3 separate regions of the Homo sapiens genome follow, and regions 1 and 3 are each linked to region 2. The links are contacts of gene promoters, found by promoter capture Hi-C in human tissues and cell types (Jung and others, 2019). All regions are on one chromosome and are shown on one strand. The core of a region is centred on a gene start or on the middle of the fragment in contact, and the rest is flanking DNA. Distances in the headings are between cores, read along the strand shown. Region 1 overlaps TRAM1 (translocation associated membrane protein 1). Region 2 holds the start of MSC (musculin). Region 3 overlaps NCOA2 (nuclear receptor coactivator 2).

Evidence for each region. Contacts are between HindIII fragments. The study calls those that stand out against the background at their distance.
Region 1: a contact is called between a fragment that was not itself captured here and the fragment with the promoter of MSC in region 2, in 1 of the 25 tissues and cell types used here (lymphoblastoid cells).
Region 3: a contact is called between a fragment that was not itself captured here and the fragment with the promoter of MSC in region 2, in 1 of the 25 tissues and cell types used here (lymphoblastoid cells).

The regions. Positions count from the first base shown.
Region 1 is chr8:70,596,839-70,600,444 of GRCh38, reverse strand. It overlaps TRAM1 (translocation associated membrane protein 1), which reads left to right. Exons shown (of 11, transcript NM_014294.6): 2 at 363-426; 3 at 2,190-2,311; 4 at 2,434-2,550. Among named protein-coding and RNA genes, the nearest start is that of TRAM1, 9.8 kb to the left of the region's middle. The HindIII fragment of the contact is 4,816 bases long and covers 1-3,606 here.
Region 2 is chr8:71,842,510-71,845,984 of GRCh38, reverse strand. It overlaps MSC (musculin), which reads left to right and starts at 1,573. Exons shown (of 2, transcript NM_005098.4): 1 at 1,573-2,340; 2 at 3,238-3,475. The coding sequence starts at 1,807. The coding sequence ends at 3,324. MSC-AS1 (MSC antisense RNA 1) reads right to left here and starts at 2,862. Exons shown (of 5, transcript NR_033652.1): 1 at 2,281-2,862; 2 at 1,563-1,756. RefSeq lists silencers at 66-115, 1,955-2,224. The HindIII fragment of the contact is 6,952 bases long and covers 1-3,475 here.
Region 3 is chr8:70,366,524-70,370,055 of GRCh38, reverse strand. All of the region lies in intron 1 of NCOA2 (nuclear receptor coactivator 2), which reads left to right. Among named protein-coding and RNA genes, the nearest start is that of NCOA2, 36 kb to the left of the region's middle. The HindIII fragment of the contact is 7,690 bases long and covers 1-3,532 here.

The DNA of each region.
Region 1 (3,606 bases), core at 127-2,626, 1.2 Mb after region 2:
TATTTTATTAATTTACACTTGAAATTTGTCTTAATAGGAACTTTTTATTCATTGTATAGGGCTAGAGTAGAGAATCATCATTTGTCAAATAACTGTTTTCTGGAACTGCAGAAAATGTCTTTTGAAATCTTAAAATTAAGGATGAATTACACAATTTTACCTAAACCGCAGAAGAGTACTCTAGTGAATTACATTAGCTCCTTGGCAATCAGTAATTTCCATTGTGTCTGTCAGGATTCCACAGGAACGAGGAGGCCCTTGGTGCTTCGATTTAGGGACAGATTTTATAATGTTTTTGCCCCGATCTGTTATTTGGGAGAGGGTCACAAATTGACTTGATCTTTGTTTTTCCTTCTTTGTAGATAACGGCAAAAGCTTCTATCATTTTTGTTACTCTTCAGTACAATGTCACCCTCCCAGCAACAGGTAGGTAATTTACGCTAAGAATTTTCTACGTAAATAGAAGTTCAGTTGAACAAACTTGGAAATTTTCATGAATGCTAGGTCCTGCGTTAATTAATCGTCAGAGATCTCATCCATGATGTGACTGAATGTTATTGTGATGATTTTATAATACAAGATCTGATGTTTTTGATTGACTTTACCCTGTATATGTTTTCTGTTTACTATATATTTTTGTGAATGGACTTGAAATTCCATAAAATAATTTTGTTTTGCTTTCTCTGCTTTCTGATTTTTTCCTAAGAAAATTATAAGAAAAGATCTTTTTAAAATTGTTTAAATGTCATTGTTCATTCAAGACTTCTAAAAGCACAATGGCAGATTTAGTTTTTCTGTAAGTTACATTTTGGACCTGTAATAGCAATCAATCCTTCTAAGATTATTTTCACTTTTTCCTGTGCTCTACTTTTAACAATTATTTTGATTCCAGAAAATGTGTTAGTAAGCTCTAGGAATTATCTGGTAATAGCATCCAAACTATTAGGTTTTATTTCAAAAATCTTATTTCTTAATCTATGTAAAAATTAGGTGTTTCTTGGAAGTTGATTGTAATTTAATACAGTGATATAATTAACTAGCATGGGTGAGGGATGGGGTATTTTTTGGTTGAGGCAGTAAACCTGCACAGTTTTTTATTTAGAATGTAAGATAATATAGTATACCACATTTAGTTGGGGTTTTTTGTTGTTGTTGCTGTTATTTATATGTGTGTTTTTAAGAGATGACAGGGTCTTGCCAAATGTGTTACCTAGGCAGGAGTGCTGTGGCGTGATCGTAGCTCACTGCAGCCTCCAGCTTCTGGGCTCAAATGATCCTCCCAGGTCAGCCTCCCAAGTAGGTGGGACTACAAGGGCACACCACCACGCCCAGCTAATTTTTCAATTTACTATAGAGATGGAGTCTCACTATACTACCTAGGTCAGTCTTGAATTTGGGCCTCAAGCAATCCTTGCCTCCCTAAGTGTTGGGATTACAGGGGTGAGCCACTGCATCTAGCCCCTGAGTTGGGTTTTTGTTCAGTTATGTACAGTTTTGTAAATATTTAATTTAGTGATTTAGTTATCAGGTTACTCAAAACTACAATACTGTTTTGAAATTTGAATATGCCAGAGAAGAATAAAGCTCTTTTATGTATATGTTCCCCATAAACATAAAGTTTGAGAATAAGTGTCAGCAATTCACAAGTATTTGATAAAGATTTGTTTTGAAAAATTATAGCAATTGCAAGGATTAAAAACAACTTTAGTAGTTGCCTTTATCTCTGCTGCTTATAGATCAAAACTAAATCAAATACAGGTCAAATCAGCTTTTTCATCAGAATCATAATTTAGTGTGTAGTTAGAAAGTAGAAGTAGAAAGTTTCAAAAGCCCTTTGAAAAAAATAGGTCAGTAGGCTAAGTATAACTTTATCAACCTAATTTATACCCCTGGGATAATATCAGTTTATTGAGTGTGGCCTCCTCTTCCCTGTTTTTTGGTCTTTGGTGGCTGTGACTAACATGTGTCAAGTCTTTGTAAGTAATTTCTAAAGCTTTAGATTTCTAGATAGTTTTGATTTTCATTGCCCCTCTAAGACTCAAGATGTCCAAGACCACGTTATTTATGATGTTAATATAGAACTTTTTTATTAGGTTATTCTTCTTTGTTTCCATAACTATGTTGTACTTAATGCTGTTTTTATAACCTTGTGTATATTTTTGTGTATTTGTGTCCTTTTTGGTCTTCAGAAGAACAAGCTACTGAATCAGTGTCCCTTTATTACTATGGCATCAAAGATTTGGCTACTGTTTTCTTCTACATGCTAGTGGCGATAATTATTCATGCCGTAATTCAAGAGTATATGTTGGATGTAAGTATGCAGTCTTAGAAATCTATACTTTATAAAGTACTAGCTCTCCATAATCTGCTAGTCATATATTAAATATAATTTATAATTTATTCTTAATTACTAATGGCTGTTTTTATTTTTAGAAAATTAACAGGCGAATGCACTTCTCCAAAACAAAACACAGCAAGTTTAATGAATCTGGTCAGCTTAGTGCGTTCTACCTTTTTGCCTGTGTTTGGGGCACATTCATTCTCATCTCTGTAAGTATGTCCTCTTAGGTTGTTGTTCTCCTTCCTTATCTAAGATTAGAAACTCTGCTAATGAAATAGTATTAAGTTAAGAGTTTCAGTGATAAATCTGTTTTAGGTATTTTTTTATACAGCAAAAATTCTAAACTATGTTTACTGTTTCAGAAAGGCTTATTCATTTTTAGTCACTCTGAATGTTACTTTTATATCTTTCTTTTTTTTTTTTTTTTTTTTTTTTGAGACAGAGTCTCGCTCTGTCTCCAGGCTGGAGTGCAGTGGCATGATCTCGGCTCACTGCAACCTCCGCCTCCCGGGTTCAAGCGATTCTCCTGCCTCAGCTTCCCAAGTAGCTGGGACTACAGACGCACGCCACCACGCCCAGCTAATTTTTGTATTTTTAGTAGAAACAAGGTTTCACCATGTTGGCCAGGATGGTCTCGAACTCCTGACCTCGTGATCCACCCGCCTCGGCCTCCCAAAGTGCTGGGATTACAGGCTTGAGCCACCAAGCCCGGCCTTACTTTTGTATCTTATAGTGGTTTACAGATACCTCTGTATCAGCAAAAAGCGTAGGTTACATGAGTTGTAATGTTCACAGTCATTTCCTCCTTTAAAAACAGCCCCAGTGTTTTCCAAGCTTCTTAAATGTTGTATAACTTTTCAGTTATGGCAATCAAAACCTTTAGTTGTATCACTCTAACTAATGAGAAAAAGAAAGGCAGTATTTGCTTTAATATTAGTGATAACAATCCCTTAAATTTATATGGTGTTCCATAGTTTACATACTTTTGAGTTTGTCAGACACATAATTCTTTCTAATCACTGTATTAGAGATGAATAACAGTGAGTTTTCCAGGGTAAAGCACTTCATGTTGGAAGTAGACTAAAACTCAGCTTTTTATTCCATTGCTCATTCCATTTTACTGTGCTGCTTTAATAATACTTTATAGGTAATATGTAAATTTTAGTTTAAAAACTATTATACATTTTTTTAAAAAAACATAAAAGTTATACTTCTGTGGGAAAATACTCTTACAAAAATCACTTTAGATTTTATTTATTTTTTAA
Region 2 (3,475 bases), core at 324-2,823:
AAACATTCCCCCGGCCCCAAAACGCCCCTGCTAAGGGTAGCGTGGCCTGGGAGACTAAGGTGGAATGATGCCTGAGTGATGAAGTCAGCCTCTGCCAGCCACCTGTTGCAGCACTTCAGCCATCGAGCTGGACGCATTTGTTCTGCTGTACGAACTGGCGGGAGCCAGGCTGGCCCAGCTATCTCTGCCAGCTCTGTCCTGGACTGACTCCACATAGGTCCCCTTGCACCTTGCTCAGCTTGGGAGCCTGTGGACTTTCAGGAAAAGAACAAGTGAACACCTAAGCCTGTGTGACGACTCAGTTTCATCATTGTAAAATGGGGTAACCATATGCCAAACTCATACGGGTTTTATTACTCAGTGAGCTGCTCACAAGCCGCGAGTACAGTGACGGGCACACAGCGGGCACTCAGTCTCTGACCACTGGGGCCCGTATCCACAGACGTACTTATCCCCTGACCAGGAACTGCGATGACCTTCGAGTTAGGAAATAATGAGACTGCAAAATTGTTGTGTTTTCTTGTGTGGAAGAGCAGGATGTTTTAGTCTTGTTTGGAATGGAACATGATCATTCAGGGTGCTCCTTTGTCGTTTTTACTTTGAATGGACGATTGTGCTAACTTAGCATTCTGCTTCCAGGAGCTCGCTCTTCAATACACAATCTATTAAATACAATAGCAAGGATTCCCTACATTATAATGCAAAGCTTTAGGGCCGGATCCTCCAACACACGCATTGTGGTATTAAAACAAAATCACATCACGCATGGAACTCTCAAGATAGTGGAAAATACCAGCTACAACATCCAGTGATGTGTGACCCGGAGGCACGGAGCTGACTAGAATACCGACGGGCCAGAATTTCAAAACGCGGATTTTGAATCTTTTTTTCTACTTAGCCTAATAAGTTTGGGTCTTTTACTTAACGTCTATCTAGGCGGCTCAGCTTCAAGTTCTGCAAATTGGAGATAATATCATTAAGTTACAGATGTTATTTGAAAAGGCAACGAACCATTGTAACCATTTTTGTAAACCATGAAGGTATATTATAAGAAAAGGAGGAGGAAAATGAGAGGTAACTTGTGCATTGTTGGATGTTGTTTGCCTGTTCTGCTTTTTCTCTTGTCCAGCAAGGCTTGGGTAGACAATCATACATCATGAATGGTTAACTTGAAAACTGAGTTCTACTGGAAAGACTGGCAGGCAAGCAGAGGTCGGAATCCCGTCGTTTCTAAGTGTCTGGTAATCTTTGCCACTGCTAAGATTACCTGGGGGTAGAAGCACCGTCGGTAGGAACAAGATGTGCCCCTTCACTCCCCGAAAGCTCACTTATCCTGCGCAGACATGTTGAAGGGCCGTCGGGCTTCAGAGCCCAAATCTCGGCTCTGCAGAGACGTCCCCTTCCCCCGCCTCCACCAACCGCTCTTCGGCATGCAGAAAAGCGGTCCCCACCCCTTCCACGCCCCTGCCCCACCTCTTGGCCCCCTTTACAACCCCCTCTTCTTTGCCCGGGGTGGTTTGTTCCAAGGAGTACAGATAGCCTTTTCAAAAGGCGCAGCTTACCGCGGTGCGCGCGGATTCTGGACTTGGGCGCCAACTCGTAGTCCACGCTCCCCGGGGTCAGCAGAGGGGCGCTCACGCTCTCGCCACCCACCTCGCTTTCTCACCCCGCGCTTCCCGGCCTGGGTTTTTAGTCTTCCTTGGAGCGCTCTCTGGCCTCCGCCTCCGCCAGGGAGCGGAAGGCGGAGACAGCGAGACTGGCCAGGGGGGAGGAAAGAGGACGCGTGTGGGCAAGGGGGACAACGGGATGTCCACGGGCTCGGTGAGTGATCCGGAGGAGATGGAGCTTCGGGGGCTGCAGCGGGAGTACCCGGTCCCCGCCTCCAAGAGGCCGCCCCTCCGCGGCGTAGAGCGCAGCTACGCCTCGCCCAGTGACAACTCGTCGGCAGAGGAGGAGGACCCCGACGGCGAGGAGGAGCGCTGCGCTCTGGGCACAGCCGGCAGCGCGGAAGGCTGCAAGAGGAAGCGGCCCCGTGTGGCTGGGGGCGGCGGCGCAGGTGGTAGCGCGGGCGGTGGTGGCAAGAAGCCCCTCCCGGCCAAGGGCTCAGCCGCAGAGTGCAAGCAGTCGCAGCGGAACGCGGCCAACGCCCGTGAGCGTGCCCGGATGCGCGTGCTGAGCAAAGCCTTCTCCAGGCTCAAGACCAGCCTGCCCTGGGTGCCCCCCGACACTAAGCTCTCCAAGCTGGACACGCTCCGGCTGGCTTCCAGTTACATCGCTCACCTGCGGCAGCTGTTGCAGGAGGACCGCTATGAGAACGGCTACGTGCACCCAGTGAACCTGGTAGGGGCGCGGCGCGCAAGGATTCGGGAGAGCAGCCAGGAGATACCCAGGGCGCTCCTGGGCGCCGGGCAGGGTCAGCCCGTTGGGAAGAATTCGAAAGGGGTGGAGGTTCTGGGACTGGGAACGAGAAGGCCAGTTTAGTTTCTCCCAAATCAAGGGAGTGGCCAGCCATTTCCCTGAAGAAGAATCAACCCTCCGTGTCTGTTTGCATCGTTCTGAACATTGTACCCCAGTGACAGCCATTGACTAATATCCTACTTCCAGGGTAAATCTTGGTTCCATCTCCATCTGCCACCAGGTTGCAGACTGACGGCAAATCTCCCTTGCCCAACTTAATCCAGCTGAGTCGGGCAGGTTTGAATCGGCAAGCCCTTTCTTAAAGGAGGGAAGGCCGAGCTCTATAAAAGAGCATTTGCATTTTTAGAAAAATTGCTTGTGGAAGATAGTAACGTTTCCCCAGATGGGATTTATCTGGAAAGTCCCTCTCTGATCTGCCAGCTCTCCCGGCTTGGGAAAAATCCTGTCCAAGCCCAGTTCCTACTTGGAGCTTGGAGTGGATGACTGTGTGTGTGTGTGTGTGTGTGTGTGTGTGTGCGTGTGTGTGTGTGTGTGTTGGGGAAGGGAACTAAACGACAGAACCTCAAAGTCAGATGAGTTTCACCAAATTATCCTGCGGGCAAAGTCCAGGAAGAAGCGTGAACGGATATGGCAAGTCTCGGATTATCAACCTCCAGTAAAATGAAAATCTTAGTTCAGAGAGAGGACATGCAAATTCCCAGAATGCTGATAAAATCTTAGCTACTCCAAGTCAGGAATATCTGGGGTTCGCGTAGGAGAGCTGTTTCGGTTTGAGACAATCGTTTCTCTCTAATATCTCACGTTCTTTTTGATTTACAGACATGGCCATTCGTGGTCTCGGGAAGACCGGACTCTGACACCAAAGAAGTTTCCGCAGCCAACAGACTATGTGGAACCACCGCTTAAATCGGACTGGAACTCACTTGATGGGATTATTCGTTAAATGCGAGTGTTTGGGGGCCACGGAGAGAAGGGAGAGCTCGTGAGATGGGAAGAAGTTTCCGCTGGATTCTCCTTGACCCTTCCCCTTTCCCTGGAACTGTGATCGTGACAGGTG
Region 3 (3,532 bases), core at 791-3,290, 1.5 Mb after region 2:
AAAGTAGCCCTTTGTGGTGGCACACCCCTGTGGTCTCAGCTCCTCTGGAGGCTAAGGTTGGAGGATTGCATGAGCCTAGAAGGTTAAGGCTGCACCACTGCACTCCAGCCTGGGCGACAGAATGAAACCCTGTCTCAAAAAATAAAATACTCAGTTTATAATCCTGAAAAAAAAAAAAGATTAATGAGGCACTATTCTGCCTTTAGTACTTTGTAGCTTCTTGTCTTACTCCTTAGGCAAGCACAGAAGGTATAATGTGCCTGGGACAGAAAAATCTACTATGTGCCCAGAGCTTGACTCAGGTTGTCTTGTGAAAACCTGACAGTATTACTAGGAAGTAGGTAATAGCATCCCCTGTCAGCCCCCCAAAACACATACATTGACTGTTTGGATTGCTTGGTGATATCTCAAATTAATCATTGGCAGAAGTAGGATCTAAATCGAAGGATGATGATAAAGATTGTGTGCCTTCTGCTCTATCTTTAAAGCTGCCTCATGCTGCCAGGGAGCAAGACACAGTGAAACTCATTGTGGATAATTGGGTCCATGCCTCACTAATCAGAAAACTGAGTTGCAATATATTACATTTCTCTGTTCTATTATGATGGGAGTAATTTCATTATAAGTGAGTTTTTATAGCACCATCTAAAAAGAATATACACTTTAAGAAAATCTAAAATCCAAACTTAGAAAGCCAGATTAATCAGGGATATTTATTCACTTTACATTGGTGTCTCTCAATTTTATAAAAGAACCAATTGTACTACAGCCTTCCTTAAATGGACATCTTCCAAATGTTTCGTATGTTTAAACTATTTGAGTTACCAAAATTGAATTTGTGTGGAATTTTTTAGACTACGTCAGTGTGTAAAATGAACTGAGTTTCAAGTGAAGTCTATTCATTTTGATAATGGATAGAAAATCACATAGCATTTAAAATGTTGCTCAAGTTTATTATTTTAGGCATACTGTTAACTCTAAAGAAATGGGTAAATGTATAATGAAGTAGTTAATGGGACAGAAATGGAATTATCCCTTTTTTTTCCTTTTTTTTGAGACTTTACTGTTATTTTTGGAAAACATTTAATAACTCTTAATATTTTAGTAGCCATTATATCAGAGATGCTACTTTTGTTTTTGTAGAATAGATTTACAGAGTACATAAGCAGCCAGACTTTCCCACAGGGAGTGACAGAATAAGTTGTGCAGTTTTGGGAGGGGTTACATTGACCAATAAATGATTTCTGTCAGTACCCAAAGGGCACCCTTACGGCCCAACAGAATTAATGAAACTGTGCAGCAGCATTAATTTCCTTTTGAAAGGCTTAGGACCAATAATACTGTCCTTATTTTCTAAATTAAAGTGAATTTTTATATAAATACAGTTTGTTATGTGACACTTAAGAAATACAGTGAAAGGTTTTAATAAACAGTCTAAACTATACTTAAGCTGTTTTATAAGAAAAATAAAGTGAAGAGTTGGTGAATTTCATTGATATAGATAACGAGTTACTTTGGTCTCAGTAGCAGATTTTGACTTGAAAAACTAAATAATGGCTGTATTTCTCTGCCTCATTTAATTGTGCACCATTTTGCTTTTTTGGTCTTTTATCTATAATCCATCCATTACTCCCCTTTGAGATTAAGTTTTCTAAAACTCTGCTTTCATTCCTCCCTCAACTTTTCCATGTCTTATAAATTGCCTCTTGGTTAAAGTCCCAGCCTAGTGTATTTTACAGCCCCATCTCCAAGTATTTCCCTATGCGGCCTTGCACTTCAGCCAGATGTCTCTAGCCAGCACTTGTGACACTCTCTTTGTCTTTCTTTCTGTCCACGTCCTATATATGCTTTACAGCATAGAAGAATAAGCCACATTTAACTTTCCAGACCAAGCCAGCACACTTGTATGTCAGGTTTTGAAATTGTTGCAGCTTTGAGTATAAAAGCTGTTATACTTTGCATTGTCTTCTAAGATTTCTAAACTCTTAAGTTATTTCTCTCATTTCCTAGTCTTCATTTGGAAATTTACTGAGAGCAGAGGCCTGCATCTTATACTTCTGAGTCTATGTTGAATTCATTCCTACAGTGTCTACTTCTATGTAACAGTATTTTACACATATTGAAACCCTAAAAAAGACACAGAATTAAGTCATAGAATTTTAGGGCTAGAAATAATTTGTAAAAGGTTGTCATTTATAGTTGAGAATACTGAGTCATAGAAATGTTGATTTTGATTAATAGTATCTTGAAATCATGGTATGGCTTGGAGAAGTGTTATCTGTTATTTTTATTTTAGTAGGGTCTTTGTGGTGGTTTTCACTTTGATTCTTTCTGAAGAAATAGCTTTAAAAATCCTTAGCACTTGGATATGTAATTATTTTACTAAGATAATTTTCAAACACTTTGAATAGTTCTACTTAATACACGGAAACTGATGATCAAACATTTAAATTGAAACTGTTTGGACCTGTGAACTGGTTTTTACTAAAAGCTGGAGTACTGTGATTATTGGTCCCTCTGTGCAGTAACTCCAAAATCTATGTTATACTCTCAGCAGTCCTATTTATATATGTTATTGGTGTAACTATTACTCTGTTGGTAGTCTTTTCACTGTATCTGGAAATGCAGTCCACCTCCTGAGGAAAAAAGGAAAAAAATAGTAGTACTTAATACTATTATTCCCACAGAGCTTCAGAAATTGGCACAAAAGTTTTCATGTTAATCTCACAAATGCTGTTATTTTGAATTTATTTAATTTCAAAACAGTATTCAGTGTCTTTTCATGAAATGCAAACTTAAACAAGGTCAGCATTATAGAAGGAAATGAGAACAGTCTTAGGAGTTTGTATTAAAGGAGATAGCTATGGTTGAAAGGAAAATCTGGGCTACTAGTAACTTGTGTTTATTTCTAAAACAATAATTTTTCCTCCCCCAAGGCCTGGTAGGGTGTTTTGAAGGTTGTATGTAAAGTCAGACATGATCGGGTTGCTATTATTGTCCTTTAGGAGAACTGTAGAAGATTTCTGCTGTGCAGTGTCAGGAACAGGTTGCTGTGGATGATGAGAGTATCCTCATTGGCCACTATTATTCTGTATGAATCTTCTGCTTTTATGAACCTTTAGCACATCTAGGGGTAAAAGGCGTGTTTTATTTCAGAGCTACGAGGTCAGAGTTTGGATGATATGCTGCCAAAGTGTGTGAATTGTGGCTACTGGAGTTCTGAGATCCCATCTTTGCCTAAAATCAGAATTCTAGAACAGTAAGCATTCAATAAGCACTCCAAGCTTCCAAGTAACCTTTTTTTTTTTTTTTTAAAGCCAATGGCTGCTTAATTTTATACAATGGTTTTCTTGCTTGTTTTCTGAATGTTGTAGATAAATAACTTATGCCGGCAATGGATATATAATTCTCAATCAGATTCTTAGGGAAAAAGCCAAAGTAGTAAAGAAAACCTTTTATATCAAAAAATATAATTTGTAAATTTGAGGTTTAGATTTAAAAAATAACATTAATATATACATATTAAATATAT